Regions from separate parts of the Homo sapiens genome. Here region 2 is linked to region 1. The links are contacts of gene promoters, found by promoter capture Hi-C in blood cells and fetal thymus (Javierre and others, 2016). All regions are on one chromosome and are shown on one strand. Each heading gives the region's core, a stretch centred on a gene start or on the middle of the fragment in contact. The rest is flanking DNA. Distances are from core to core; before and after follow the strand shown. Region 1 holds the start of LIG4 (DNA ligase 4). Region 2 overlaps MYO16 (myosin XVI).

Region 1 (7,439 bases), core at 4,726-7,225:
ACATATCACTGGGTACGATCTCTGCTGCTTTAATCTGAACAATGACAGAATTACAAGGTTCAATGTATACTTCTGGCTTCTCTGTTCCACATAAAATGCTGCTTGGTGGAGCTTTTCTATGAAAAGGCTTCCAATACTTGGCCAATTTCAAACCCAGATCATACAGTTCTTTCATGGTGCAGCCAGACCCAACACGAGAGAGAGTATGAAACACAGATGGCTTCTCACCAGGAGGGGGCTTCTCTGCTACTGCACACAGAAAATGAGACATCATTCCACCCCGTGATCCTTTACCCCAATATCCTCCAACAATTAAAATGTCCAATTCATCCATTAGTCCACTGACATACTCTGGTTTAATTTTTAACCACCCTTCACCTCTTTTGTCTGGCTTGTAGATGGATAGAGGTTGTTTTACCATAATTCCCTCTTCTCTTTTATCTATTGCTTCATTCAATGCATCAATTACTTCATTCTTAGTATGAGCTTGTGTTTTCTGCACTATTTCTATTCTACCTGGAATTGGTGTAAAAATACTACTAAGAATCTCATACCTCTTTCTCAGAGTCTCATGCCCTAGCTTTTTATTATTAACCATCAATACATCAAAAACACAATAACAAGTTTGCAGATCAGAATCCTCTACCATTCTTTTAATATCAAACTTAGTTCCCTTTTGCATGAAAGTTTGTGTATTAGGATTATAGGCCATCATCTCACCATCAAGAATACAGATTTGTATATCTGCTTTGAATGCATTATGAATGAATGGGGTAAGAGAACCTTCAGTAGGAGAAGCACCAAACTGATCAGTGTAGTTATATCCATTTCGAGAGAAGTATTTATATACATCTCCATCTTTGTGCATTTGCATACGTTCACCATCTAGCTTGGTTTCTATGTAGAAACTCTGATGTTTCATATCCTTCTCAATGTGCTCAATATCTGCAATAGCAGCTAGCATTGGTTTAAATGCAGAAAATAAAGTGATAGAAATATCACTGAGTCCTACAGAAGGATCATGCAGTTGCCTACAGACTTTTTCCAGATCTGTAGTGACATTATGCAACTCAGCAGCATCATTATGAAAAACAGAAAAGATAGTTTGCTGACTAACACCAAGCTTTAAATCCTTTATGATCATCCGTATAAGCCACTTTTGCTCAAGTGCTGAACTCTGAGTTATAAGTTGAAGAAGGCTCTTTTTTATTAGGTCTTTTCTTTTAGCAGAATTATTGCTGGCAATTGAGTCTAAAAGGTCGTTTACTTGCTGTATGGTTAAACTTCCTTTCTGTAAACATCTTGGCTTCAACACAAAATATGCAATCATTGCAAAGTCTCCAGCATCTCCATGAGTTCCAGTGGGTGTTCTGTAGTTTAAAAGTTTGAGGGCATCTTTTCCATCTCTAGGTAAATTAAGCAACTCAATATAAAGCTTAGCAAGCATAGTTTCTTTAATTCCATAGGCCATTCTCTCTCTTTCTAGCTGAGGAAGAATTAGTCTCATTGCTGGATAAAAAGAGTCTGTGACATCTTTGTGGTTCTTATGAAGAGCATCATGAAATTTTCTCCAAGAATCTAAAAATTCCCTGAAGTGTCTGATTTTTTCTGCACGTCCTTTACTTTTCTGTATTCGTTCTAAAGTTGAACACAAATCTGCAAAAGGAACGTGAGATGCAACAGTTTGTGAAGTTTGTGAGGCAGCCATCAAAGCGGTGATGAATCTTCTCGTTTAACTAGTAAAGCAAAAAGAGAATAACTTTAAGTAAAAGATAAGATTCAACTAAATATTTAATGTAAAGATCTTACAAAGATCACTGAGATCATAATAAATGTTTATTAATGTTTACTAAAAAAAAGATCAATGCTCTAAATGATGTATCTTTTCAACCTCTACATTTAATAACTGTTTTGCTCCAACCCTAATTTGAAGTTATTATGAAAAGTATCATCAGCTATATAGCTGTATTTCCTGTATTTATAATACAGAAATCATTTTAATTTTCTCTTTAAATTCCAGTTATTCTATGTATTAATTATTTAGCACATAATACAAACAAATATTGCTAATAATGGTGACAAAAAAACTCATCAGGCTTAATTCACTTCACTTCTGAGCTTCTGAGGGAAGGCCTTTCATGTATGTCTCTTCTTTCCCTGTCAGACTACCACATAGCACCAGAAATGAACTTGATCTTCGAACAGATATTTTTAACAAATCACTCATTTGCTGAACTGAAATTTGACTTCCTAGAAATCCTAATCATAGGCAGGGCCCTTGACCAAAAAACAAAACAAAGGAAAAAACAGGTACCCTCTTCTTCCAGCCAAACAAAGCCTACGTCTATGTTTCCTTTCACTTCTTCACTGCTAGCTATGCCAAATCACACCAGCATTCGATTCCAACTCAAAATGCCCTACCCATAAAATCCTCACTTTATCTATTTTACCATAGTTACTTACTGTCTTATAAGTATAAATTTATTAGTATGCTGCTTTTTTCATATTTCCATGCCAGTTATTCCCTGAGTATTTAATGACTACATATGAGATGTGCTACATACACTGTGCTAGGGGAAAATACTGCATGTTTCTGCTTTAAAAGAAAATATATTCTGTAAAAAAAAAAAAAGAAAAAAAAGAAAAGAAAAAAAGGGGGGGAGTGTAGTGGAAACTGAGTATAATAAAATGCCAAGTGCTTTAACAAAATAAAACAAACGTAAAATGTCCTGAGGGGAGAGCTTTTCCCTAAAGTATCTGCTAAAGTCAGAGAAGAAATAATGGGTACCTTGCTAAGCTAGGGCAAGAATATTTCCTAAAATTTCACAAGTGTAAATTTCTTTAGTTTTAAATATTCATACAAGTTCTACTGGAAGATAAATATATTAGAGTAATTTTAATATGGTTTAAACTATGTAATGTTAAATAACTTTTCCAAAAAAAGATTTCAAGTAAAATGTATGGTCCATGAATAGAAACTATGTTTTATCCTGTGGTTTCAGACCCCTCCTGGCACACCACCATGTATCCCAGGCAGTGGAGTTGGAGAAGTTTTGCTGGGAGTGGGGAGATCTATTACAGTGCAGAAAATATGTGACTCCCCATCTTCCAATTCGCAAACAAATGAGCAACACACACATGCACAAGGCTACATTATCTAGTATCCAGTAAAATAAATCAAATGGCTAATTACAATACTACATTTACTATACTGTCAGTATCTAGAGGCCAGGAATTGTGCTGTAATTTGTGCTCTAGTGGCAGACATGTAGGAGGTTTGCTGAATGAATTACTGAACACCTAGAGTTGACTCCTGGATAAGCACACTAGGGAAAGCTATGGTCTGGTTACATACCACACACTCACACACGCACGCAGACACACAGTGGGTGAGATTCAGTTTGGTTAAAAATATTCAGTAGCTCTGACTGCCCTGGCAATGGTTTACAACAGCCATTTGGTGGCCTATAGAGAAAAAAGGTGCACTTCTCAGTCTAATTTCTGACAAAGGAAACCCAGCTTCTACTGAGTGGGTTAGATCGAGGGATAAACGCATGACAGACCACTTTCCTGAAACTTTTATCTTTGAATATACTGTTGTTTCCTCTCTCTGAATCTGGTTTGCATAACTGACTGTAACACCTGGTTATGTATGTTCACTGCCCTATCTCCCAAAATTTGCTCCCTCAAGGGAGTAAACAGGGTACACAATGCTATATCTACAATTTCTATATAAACTATGTAAAATAAAGTAGGTTAACTAATATTTCTTTAATATTCAAATATTGGTATATAGTTTCTACAGATATATCTATAGATTCTACATGGTCTCAAAGTTAAAGTTTCGCTCAACAAATCCCAGGCAAGGACTTAAATTACTTTATAATGACAAAATGTAGGTAATGGTGTGGATACACATGTATCCTAAAATGGCTACGCCTATAACAAGGATTCCAAAATTGCCATAAACTAGTCGTAAGTATTTTTGCTCATTACAACGGCATAAAAAGTCAAAGATTAGGACTTCCATTCATTTTTACATGCTAATTTTATTTTTTGGATTCTGAGGATTTTAGCTGATTCATTCCATTTGCAGTAAGACAAATGAGGAGGTTCCTGGTTAGGGCTCAGGTTTTAGACTCTAATAAATCTGAGTTCAAATGTGGATGGTAACATTTAACAGCTGTGTGATACTGGGCAATTACTTAATTTCTCTAAGCTTCAGTTTCCTAAAGTATAAAATGGGGTTAAAAACTATGTAGAAATTAGAATGAAGATAAAAATCAGATAATCTACAAAATGTGCTTTAAAAAGTAGTAAGTCTTGATAATTTTAATACTATAATGCTTGCTGATCCAAGCAACATTTAAAATATAAATATTGCAAAATATTAACGAGATAAAAAGGTGGGAAGAAGCTTCACTCTTTAACAATAAGCAAAGCTTTCAGGAGAATGAATGCAAGCAATTAGTACACAATAACGATTCATCATTCATTCAGTTCTGACTAAATTGTCCTGAAGTGACACATGAAAATAAACCGGCAGGTTTTATTCAGTGACTATGGAAGGTGATTAAGTGCTATGCTATTGCACTTAAAAAAGAGAGAGGAAAAAAAGGAGTAAGTGACGAATGCAACTGAAGTATCCTTCATGCAACCCTTGACAAGCTGTGTTTCCCTAGGAAACAAAGGGTTTACAGCTGCCTATCTTCCACAGCACTTAGTGACAATTTGGGACAATCTCAGCAAAAAGAAATGAGCAGACAAAGACGCTAGAAGGGCTTTGGGATCCCAAAAGTTAATGAAAGACCAAGTGTAAGAAGAGAAATAAAGTAATTCCCTCCAAGCCTAAAGTCTCTCCCGCTCCAATGCCCCCTGTACCCTCTCGGAAAATGGAAAATCCCTAAGGAGTCTACATCATTCCTCTGCCCGTTCCCCCTACTCTCCCCCAACCCTTCACGGATTCCCAGTGAATACCTGGCCTCGGGCAAGCTCCGTTACCTCTGTGAACCAGAGAATCCCAGCTGTAAAATGAGATCTTGATGGTTTCCTGCGGGGTTGCCATGAGAAAGAATCAACATGTACGCAGGTAAAGCAGGCAATACAGTTCCAGGGAGTCAAAAACGGGAGAAATCGTCCCACGACCTGGGGCTTGGGTCTAGATGAAGAGCACAGCATCAGGAGGCCAGGCTTCTAATGCGGCGCAGTCTACAGCGCTGTGGACTCGGCAACTCCCATCACCTGCCGCTGCACAAACACCCTGCTTGCTGCCCCCATAGACCGACCCCCGCCTGACGCCTCCCAGACCCCCCCACCTGACGCCCCTCAGGCCCCCCGCCTGACGTCCCAGACACCCCCACGACCGGATCCCCCAGACCCCCAATCTGACGCCCCACTTCCCCTACTTGACTCCCCACACATCCCCCGCCTGACGACCCCCCGACCCCCGCCTGACGTCCCAGACACCACCCATCTGATCCCCCAGACCCCCAATCTGACGCCCCACACCCCCCACTTGACTCTCCACACACCCCACACCTGCCACCCCACGTAAACCCCGCCTGACACCTCACAGACCCTAACCTGACGCCCCACAGACCTCCCCCGCCTCCTGCCGCCACACACACCCCAAACCCCGCCCCGAACACCCCCCACCTGCCGCCCCACAGATTCCCCCCTCTGACGCCCCACAGACCCCCAACGTGACGCCCTACAGACCCCAACCTGACGTCCCACAGATACCCCGCCTGACGCCCCACAGACCTTCCCCCGGTCTGTTGCCCCACAGACTTCTCGCCGCCTGCTGGACCACACCTTCCACTTGACTCCCCCCACACCGTCAATCTGCCACCCCCCACCCCCCCCACCCCAACCCCCCCCAACCTCCCAACCGCCCCCACCTGCCACCCCACACCCTTCCCACCTGACGTCAAGCCTGAAGCTCAGCCGCTAAGCCGGAAGCTGGCGCCAGAAGATGCCGGTTCCGCCAGCTGCTCGCCGCGCAGGCGCAGGGGAGACCCGGGGCCTTGCAGTCACCGGGCTCAAGCACGCCGGCGCAGCCAGGCTCGCGATGGGAGGTGGGGGGGCCGGCAGCCCCGTGGGGCTGCGGAGGCGGGACCTGCAGGATCCTGGTTAGGGTCTTGAGTACACACGGCTCCTATTGGCCTCGGCAGCAGATGCTCTCTGCAAGCAGTTGATCCACACGCCAGTGGATTTTGTCTCGAGGGAGACCTAAGATCACTTTGTGCTCTGGCTAGTGATAGCCTCTAATTCTTGTTCTCTGTACGTAAAACAGTGGTAACTATACTGATTTCGCTGGTTGTGAAAACTCCCAAGAGAGAACAGGACATCCTCCCAACTCAAAACGTTGGTTGTTTCATTTAAACTTTTAAAAAATAGGCTTTTGCAAACTATATAGAGCTGTTTTTTTTTTTAAATGATGTTTGCTACTGTGGTCTCAGTTCTCTTAATACAGAAATAATACATAACAATACATAACTTACAATATAGAAATAAACCGTTGCATGACCAGAAATCAACTATGGACTCTTCTAGTATCTGTTTAAGGTTTAAAAATAAAGTTATTTAACAAACCTTTATTGAGCACCTATTATTATATAGTAATGGTGCTAGATATTCAGGGTGGAGAGATTATAAACAACCCCAGTTTTTGTGTTCCAGGAGCTGTTGGTTTCCACCGAATTTTTGCTGTGGTCAGTCCTCTTTCGCCATGGAGAAGTGAGAAGTTATTCATAAAGAGGGGTGGAAACAACTTTTAGAACTATTTTATTTTAGCATAAAATATTGCTTTACAATAAAATAAATTTTGCTGCAGTGGGCCCTGATAAAACATATTAGAGCTGTTAAGTGCCCTTAGAGGTTGTGTAATGTATAAAAACCTCCTTTTTCAAAACTGACACATTTCATTCAGTGCTAGTTTGTAGCGGAGGTTCCGTCTAGCCCAAGAACATTCAGTTATTTACTTCGTATGTCTAATTGACCTAATATGCCTGAATATCTAAAATCATCTGTGATGTTGTAAAGTCTCATGATATTGTTTTGTGAGTATCTGCTCTTCAATTTAGTTATCAATTTATTTTGGAGGAAAAATGAATAGTGTTAAGGTAGAGGAGCCTCCACTTGCCCATCTTAGGAGAGGGTACCTATCCGTGTACATTTGTAGCTTGTTCAACCTCTACTGAGCTCCTACAATGTCAGAAGCTGGACTTTGTATTAGTTACATGAGAAGAACCATGAATTATGAAACCAGGCAAACTCCAAATTGATTCAAAGCCCAGTCTCCATTTCATCATGTTATTTTAGTTGATTGGTTCAAAGACAATCAAGGGTTTTTTTCACTAAGTATCTTCTAGAGTTGCCATGATTATTAATTTATTTATGTAAATGGTCTACTTTATATATGCTTGGCACTTATTCCG
Region 2 (7,439 bases), core at 2,988-5,487, 700 kb after region 1:
TCCAGAGTAGGATCCGTCATTTGACTCCTGTGGGAGGCACTTTCACTTAGGTTATACCACCAAAGTGATGACCACCTTGATCATGAATAATGAGATGGAAAGAAATGCATAGTTGTGAAAGAGAAAATATTTGGCTATCCGAATTCGTTGATAGTATGTTTTTGGTGCTTGCTAATTGAAGGCATGACAATACTTTCTGGAAACAGGCCCTAAGTGGTCGTGTACCCATAACTAGATGGGTGAGACATGGTGAGAGTGGGTGTTGGAAATTTCTGGAAGTCAATGGGAAGAACAAAGGCAGGAATTTTTCTTTCTTGAAAGAGCAAAGTTTATTTCCACCACTTTTTTTTTATATAATGAACAAAAGCTGTATAGCCCTATGAAATACTTTATTGCATTTTATGTTACATGTAATCTGCAAACATATATATTTTTCAACACCAAAACTTTTTGGAACGCATATATGAATATATGGACACTTGTAGAGAATTATAAGCATGTTTCTAGTCAAAAGTATTTCTGACATAAAAGAGCTTTTAAAACATACAAGTCTTGAGAAGTCAGGAGCTCAGTTAGTAGAATGTTTCTTTTTATGTATGAACACTTACATGAATGCGTCCTGAAACCTTTTTAACTTAGAAGCCCATCATACTCCTTCCATTTTTACCGTTTCACTTCAGACACAACAGAAAGATCTGCATTTCTCCATTTGAAAGAATATTAGAGTTTCATGGCAATTTGAATTTTGGGCTGTCTTGTGTTTGCTTCCATCTAAAAGCTCACTCAAGATGTATACATATTTTGAAACCCTGCTGATCAGAATTCCACTAATCCACAGCAATTTTATTCACTGCTGGAGATGAGCTAACCAGGTTGATTAATAATTACACTGTTTTTGAATTTAGATGAAATGTATTGAAGTGACTCCATGATGTGGAATTTGATTAGTTTTGAATACTGCTTCAATCAGGGCTTGCATATTGGCTGGGATAGATGGGGGTTAGCCAACCATTTCTCCAAGAACAAGATGACTATTCATTCTCCCTTCTCATCTGATATTTCATGCCTAAAGGCTAGAAAAAATGGAAGATAATTTCATTTAAAATGTCTTTAGGTTTTTAAAAAATATCCTCTTAAGTAGTAAATTAATTCAAGATGAATATTATTAATATTAAACAGAAAATGTTTTCAGCAAAGAATTTAAGGGGGAAAAAAGAAAAAAATATTTAAAACTTAACTTGAAATTGCCACCTAATTGATTCTCATAGAGACCTGTGCACACACATTCAAGCACACATGCTCATCCACTGAGGTTTACTGCTAATTCAGGGCTCCACACCACCCCCATTCTAATTTTACCATCACCTTTGGGCTTTACTGTCACCAATGAAAGGAATATTTTGAAAGACCTTTTCTTTATGCACTCCTGGCAACTTTTCCCAAAGTTGTCTCTTTATACAACTTTTCTTACTAAGGGATATTAATTTTGAAATTTTTAAAAACTGTGATATCTGATTAGCTAAATTGACCACTTACTAAATGCATTGGAAGGCATTGTAAATAGTGGTTCTAGTTGTTAGAACAGATTTGCTGTAGACAATTAAATTGGGAGACATCACATTTTTGCTTTTAGTGCTGGACTTTAGAATAATTCTTAGCAAATTCATTACATGAGTTTTTTTAAAGTTCAAATGTATGAGATAATTATAACCATTTATTTGCCTTTCTAAGAACTGCCATTCTTTAACACCCCTCACCCAAATAATATTGACAATGGATTCTTACTTCAAAGAGGAAAACTGTAATAATTCACATTTGCATTTAAAATTGAAATGCAGGTCTGGCGTGATGGCTCACCCCTGTAATCCTGGCACTTTGGGAGGCCGAGGTGGGCAGATCACTTGAGGTTAGGAGTTCAATACCAGCCTGGCCAATATGGCAAAAGCCTGTCTCTACTAAAAATACAAAAATTAGCTGGTGTGGTGACACACACCTGTGGTCCCAGCTACTGAGGAGGCTGAGGCAGGAGAATCACTTGAACCGGAGAGGCAGAGGTTACAGTGAGCCAAGATCGTGCCACTGCACTCCAGCCTGGGCAATAGAGTGAGACTGTGTCTCAAAAAAAATAAAATAAAATAAATAAATAAATAAATAAATAAAAATATAATTGAAATACATAATCTGATTATTCATAATGATAAAAATAAACCTATATTAATATTTCAAATGCTCCAGAAACAATGAAATTTTCAGCATGCCAAACATACAGTCATAATTTTGACCAACGCTAGCTTCTGAATTGCTGATCTTCATATGTAAAGCAAAATTGAGGCTGTGATTACCATATTGCATCTTTTTGGCGTTGTTGATCAACTACTATCAAATAAATTTCAACACCTTGTATTTATGCATTGGGTTATATTTTATTTTATTTTGTAAAGTTTTGAAAACAGAGGACTAAATAAACATCAGCTAGTAGTCCTATTACCGCACATGTGTGGTGAGAATAAAAGAAGATGACTACACACTGTTCACACTGGACATGTGTTACTTAATAGACACCTCATCTACCTCATCCTCAAATACATTATGTGTATTAAACTATATCTGTGTGAATTCAAATTGCATTTTCCTTTGCTGCAGTGGGTTTCCTCCAGTGTTTCTGGCAGTGAGGGACCATGGTCTGTCTCCCTGGGCCTTCATAGTGCAGCCATATATAATTCTGATCTAGTTGCTGGGAATGCTTATCAGTGCCTTTAGTGGGGCACTTTTTGAACAGTGTAAGTTAATATCCATCATACCAACATGGCCGGGACTCTCAAACAGTGGGATATTAATGAGGAAAATTCCAAAGCTTATTTCAAAGCCTTTGTTACAGACAAGAGCAAATCTTGTTTCAAATTACATTTGTGCACCAAGTTCTTTGTTGGATATGGGACAAGGAAGGATGTCCCCTTAAACCATGTCTTTTCAGCATCGTATTGAAAGTCCTAGCTAATGCAAAAAGACAATAAAATAAAATGTAAATAGATGGGAAAGGGAGAACTCAACAGTCCTTGTATCTCTTGTAATTAATTAATATGTGTTAATTTATGGAAATGAAATGAATACTGCCATTTAACAGAATCACTTTTCTTTTCCCAACCAGCCAGAATTTATACATATTTGCTAGAGAAATCCAGACTTGTTTCACAACCTCTTGGCCAGAGCAATTTTCTCATTTTCTACTTGTTGATGGATGGGTTATCTGCTGAAGAAAAATATGGACTTCATCTTAATAATTTATGTGCACACCGGTGAGTGACTAAGTATTTTGTATCTAAAAGCTATGCCTTCAAATTGTGATTGCAATTTGGTAGTCTTAAATTATCTTCTTACTTTTCAGAGACAAAATGGTGAGTAAAAGATAACTGTTGGATACTGTTAGGTTGAAACCATCCACATAACAAGGTTCCCACTGTTTCTTGAATGGGTGAAGTTGTATGTGTGTGAACAAACTTATATTTTACTAGTTTTCAGATCAGAAAAAACTTGTGCAGATATAAACTCCTATACTCCTTTTAAGTATTTTGGCTATAACATGAGTTATGCACTCCTAATCCATGGCCCTGTTTTGAGATAATGGGCAATGTTATTTGAGTAAGTATGATTATTCATTGGTGTTGGATGAAGGTACATCATGGATTAAGATGCACAGCACACATAACCTCAGGGGCTGATTTCCTTTAATGGAGGCAGAAAGCACTTGTGTTAAAATTAGGATGCCTTGGTCATAGGAGAATGATGGGAGTGACAGGCTGTATAGACAGTGAGTGAAGAATGTATTCTCAATGTTTGCACTTCTGCTAACTGCCTGGTTTAGTGTGTCTCTGCCACAGGGATGGGTCCAGATTTGCATTAGGATGAGAACAAGAAACAATATGGGAAATGAATCCTGTTCTGAAGAGAAGTTGGTGGGAAAAGAGCACAAGAGAGAATTGGATTCTGATCCAAACTCAATTCAGTGGCGGTGGGGGGCGGTGGTGGGAACTAGACTCTGAGGACATGTGGATTGACTTCAGATACCTGCTGATACCTGATTTATGGCTTATTGGGTGTTTATTATTAGATCTAGGGGAACAGTGTGAGTTTGCACAATTTTAGGAGAACTTTTGTGAGAAAAAGGATGCTATAGGAGAAAACACACACACACACACACACACACACACACACAGAGAGAGAGAAGGGTTGCTTCACTCACCTTCATGTAGTCAAGACAGTGGTTAAGGCCAAGTGCTTATTGAGAGAACAAATTGGCGGGGGGCAACTTCCCCAGCAAGCCCTCCTCTTGAGTACACACATAGGCTGCTTTAAGCCTGCAAAAAAATATCTCCAGTTCTCTCTGCTTTGCTGTGCTATTTCCCCATCTGAAGCCATTATATTCTGGTTGGGGAGATATTAATAAACAGGTTGGTAATAGTTGAGGTGATATGATGAAAAATAAATGAGGGTTGGGGAACAGAGGAGCAGGTGGGTGTCCTGCTTTTAGATACGTTAATCGAGAGCCTCCTACCAGGTAGTACCTGTGGTAGAGACACCAGAGAGGGCCGTTCACAGATCTGATGTGGTGTCCAAGGGAGATGGAAGTGTACAAGGGGCCTGAGGAAACATACTCAATGTTTGAGGGACAACATGAAGGCCAGGATCTCAGATTAGAGTTGTATGGGAAAGAGGGAGGGTAATAGAGACAACATGAAAAGAACAGCCATGGTCAGAAATTTAGATTTCCTTCAGAGTTGTCTGGAAGTGATTGGGGGTTTTGAGTATGCAAGAGAATTGGTTTTCACTTCGAAGGTGATTTGCATCTGTGGAGATGTCCCTATGGTATTCCCAGCTGGAACCAGAGAGCTAAATTCCTGGTATGGTAGTGGGGAGGTGGTGTTAGCACTCATGGTAATGGTGGTGCAGGCGATGAGGAATGGGAAAACATGGGTTATGCTCTGAAGGTAGGAAGGTCAGGATTGAAGGATGCACTGAACAAGGGATATGAGGTAAAGAGATCAAGAATGATTCCTGTGGCTGTGGCCTGAGCAACACATGGTGTTATTGTGCCATTTACCTCGTGACAAGGCTAGGAGGGAACCAGGGTGCTGGGGAGGAGAAGAGTGGCCAGAGAACCAGTCCTGCTGGTTTTAAGACAGCAAGGTGGAGATGCAGGAGTGTCAGCAGGGTACTGGAGAGAGGAGGGACTTTCCAGTGTGATGGAGCCAATGTGAGGCTGAACTCCTAGAACTGCTTGGAGAAATTACAGGACAACCTCTGTCCCGCCACTGCTGTGAGGGGTGAGTGATAGTGCAGGTGGGCTCAGAGGAAGAGAATGAATTGGCCTAATTTACAATCACATTACTAATTATTATCATTAAATTTCAGTGAAGACATCCAGGGCTATGGATATGGTTTGTCATGTTGTGTAGGTAGAAAGTAGTCAGGAAGTGTAAAAGGCCTTATCAAAATTGTGTTTTATTTACAAAGAAAGACTGTTTTAGGGTTTTCTGTTCCCAAAATACAATAGAAGTTTAGAAGAAAAAGCTAATATTAAAGTATGGTAACCCAGGCAAAAGTGATAGAAATATAAAAATTCCAAGCTTCTAGGACATTAGAAATATTTTAAATCAAATCCCTTTATATTATAAAGGAGGAAATCAAAGCCAGAGACATGAAGAAGCTTGTACTCAAGTGAATACCTTTTATGCAGCAGCAGTATTGACAAAACCCACCACCTGAGATTAACTTTGTGATTTTCTACCTTGAACATCGCTAATTGAACATGTTGACCCTGGGAGGAAGCACCTAACTGGATTCTGGGGATTGCATGTTGAGAGATAGCCTGTGAGGAAGAGAAGAGTTTTGGGTTTCTCTGCTCCCAATCCTTCTAACGAGCAACAGCTCAAAGCCTCAAGCAGATACGTAGCTTAGAGTGCATCTGTGTCTATGTGTGTGTGTCTGTGTGTGTGCACGTGGGTATGTGCTTGGCATTGCAGACGTATGGCCACTGATGAAGAAAAAGGAATAATGTAACCTATAATTTAAATAAACAATTTAACTTCTTGATCTGTGGTTTGGATGAGTCTGTTGAAGTGTGTGAGTGTGTGGGAGAAAACAAGGATTTCTGTATTGAGCTTCAATTCTGACATTCATTTCTCTTTGCAAAAAAGAGTTTGGAGTCACTTAGGCTATTTAGAAAGTCAAACAGTCAGGGGTGACTTTATGAGGAGTTCCAACAGGAAAGAACTTAGGAAGATCGTGAATAATTCAGTTCTCTTGGACAAAGCAGTTATTTTATTGAAATGTATCATAAGTATCTAATGGGTGCAAAACAACATTTTCCATGAAAATATTCACCACCCACCACCCTCCAGATTCATGAATACATCAGTTGGAGCATTTGTACAATGACAATTTCACAGGAAAACTTTAACGGTAAAGCAAGCTGTTTTTCAAGTTATAACATAGTATGTATACAGTATTTTTTGTTGTTTATGTTATACAGGTCTTCTCACATTTATAATGTTGGTGGATCTTCTCACTTTTGCAATGTCGGTTGGGTTTGAGAAGTTCATATTTGTTTAATGTTTAAATTTAGGTTGGTATCTAATCTTTATTTGGTAATTATGAGTATTAAGTTCCATAGTTTTGGAAACTGTTTGGCTTGTTCACAATTAGAAATGTAAACCTGAATTTGCGAGCTTTCTAACCTTTCACAAACTGATGGTCTTCTGAATCCCTTCCTTAAAATTGGTACCCATAGGTAAAGGATATTGCTATTTGTAAAATGCTCAATACCATATGTTAAAGCAAACTAAATATGGCTGGAGGAGGACTCCGTGCTTCTGTATTTGAGTCCTTGTGGACGAACTATAACCTAGCTTAATAGGCAGACAAGACTGAAAACCCAACTTAGGTGTATGTGCCTGTAACAATAGCTGAGTCTTGGCCAATCCCAGCGGCCATACTTCAACCACTGATAGACTGCTGAGTGTTCAGTTGTTCAAATAGAGCAAACACCAACCTGTAACCAATCCAGCTGTTTCTATACCTCACTGCCGATTTCTTTATGGCACTTCCCTTTTTTTGTCTATAAATTTGTTCTGACCACGAGGCATCCCTGGAGTCTCTCTGAATCTGCTGTGATTCTGGGGGCTGCCTGATTCTACATATATGTAGTATATCTACTATTATTAAGTAGATAATTATATCTACTATTGTTAATAATTAGTGTATTTACTATTGTTAATATATGTATTATATATACTATATTATATGTAGTATATCTACTATTATTAAGTAGATAATTATATCTACTATTGTTAATAATTACTGTATCTACTATTGTTAATATATGTATTATATTTACTATATTATATGTAGTATATCTACTATTATTAAGAATGGCATTATTA

The links. Contacts are between HindIII fragments. The CHiCAGO score rates a contact against its expected background, and 5 or more counts as called.
Region 2: a contact is called between a fragment that was not itself captured here and the fragment with the promoter of LIG4 in region 1, in 7 of 17 cell types (M0 macrophages, M2 macrophages, M1 macrophages and 4 more). The highest score is 17.8, in M0 macrophages.

What each region holds. Positions count from the first base shown.
Region 1 is chr13:108,209,561-108,216,999 of GRCh38, forward strand. It overlaps LIG4 (DNA ligase 4), which reads right to left and starts at 5,976. Exons shown (of 3, transcript NM_206937.2): 1 at 5,924-5,976; 2 at 4,978-5,050; 3 at 1-1,736. The coding sequence starts at 1,708. RefSeq lists an enhancer at 5,901-6,195 and a silencer at 6,039-6,178. The HindIII fragment of the contact is 5,824 bases long and covers 4,441-7,439 here.
Region 2 is chr13:108,906,855-108,914,293 of GRCh38, forward strand. It overlaps MYO16 (myosin XVI), which reads left to right. Exons shown (of 35, transcript NM_001198950.3): 16 at 3,149-3,296. Among named protein-coding and RNA genes, the nearest start is that of MYO16-AS2, 190 kb to the right of the region's middle. The HindIII fragment of the contact is 2,770 bases long and covers 2,853-5,622 here.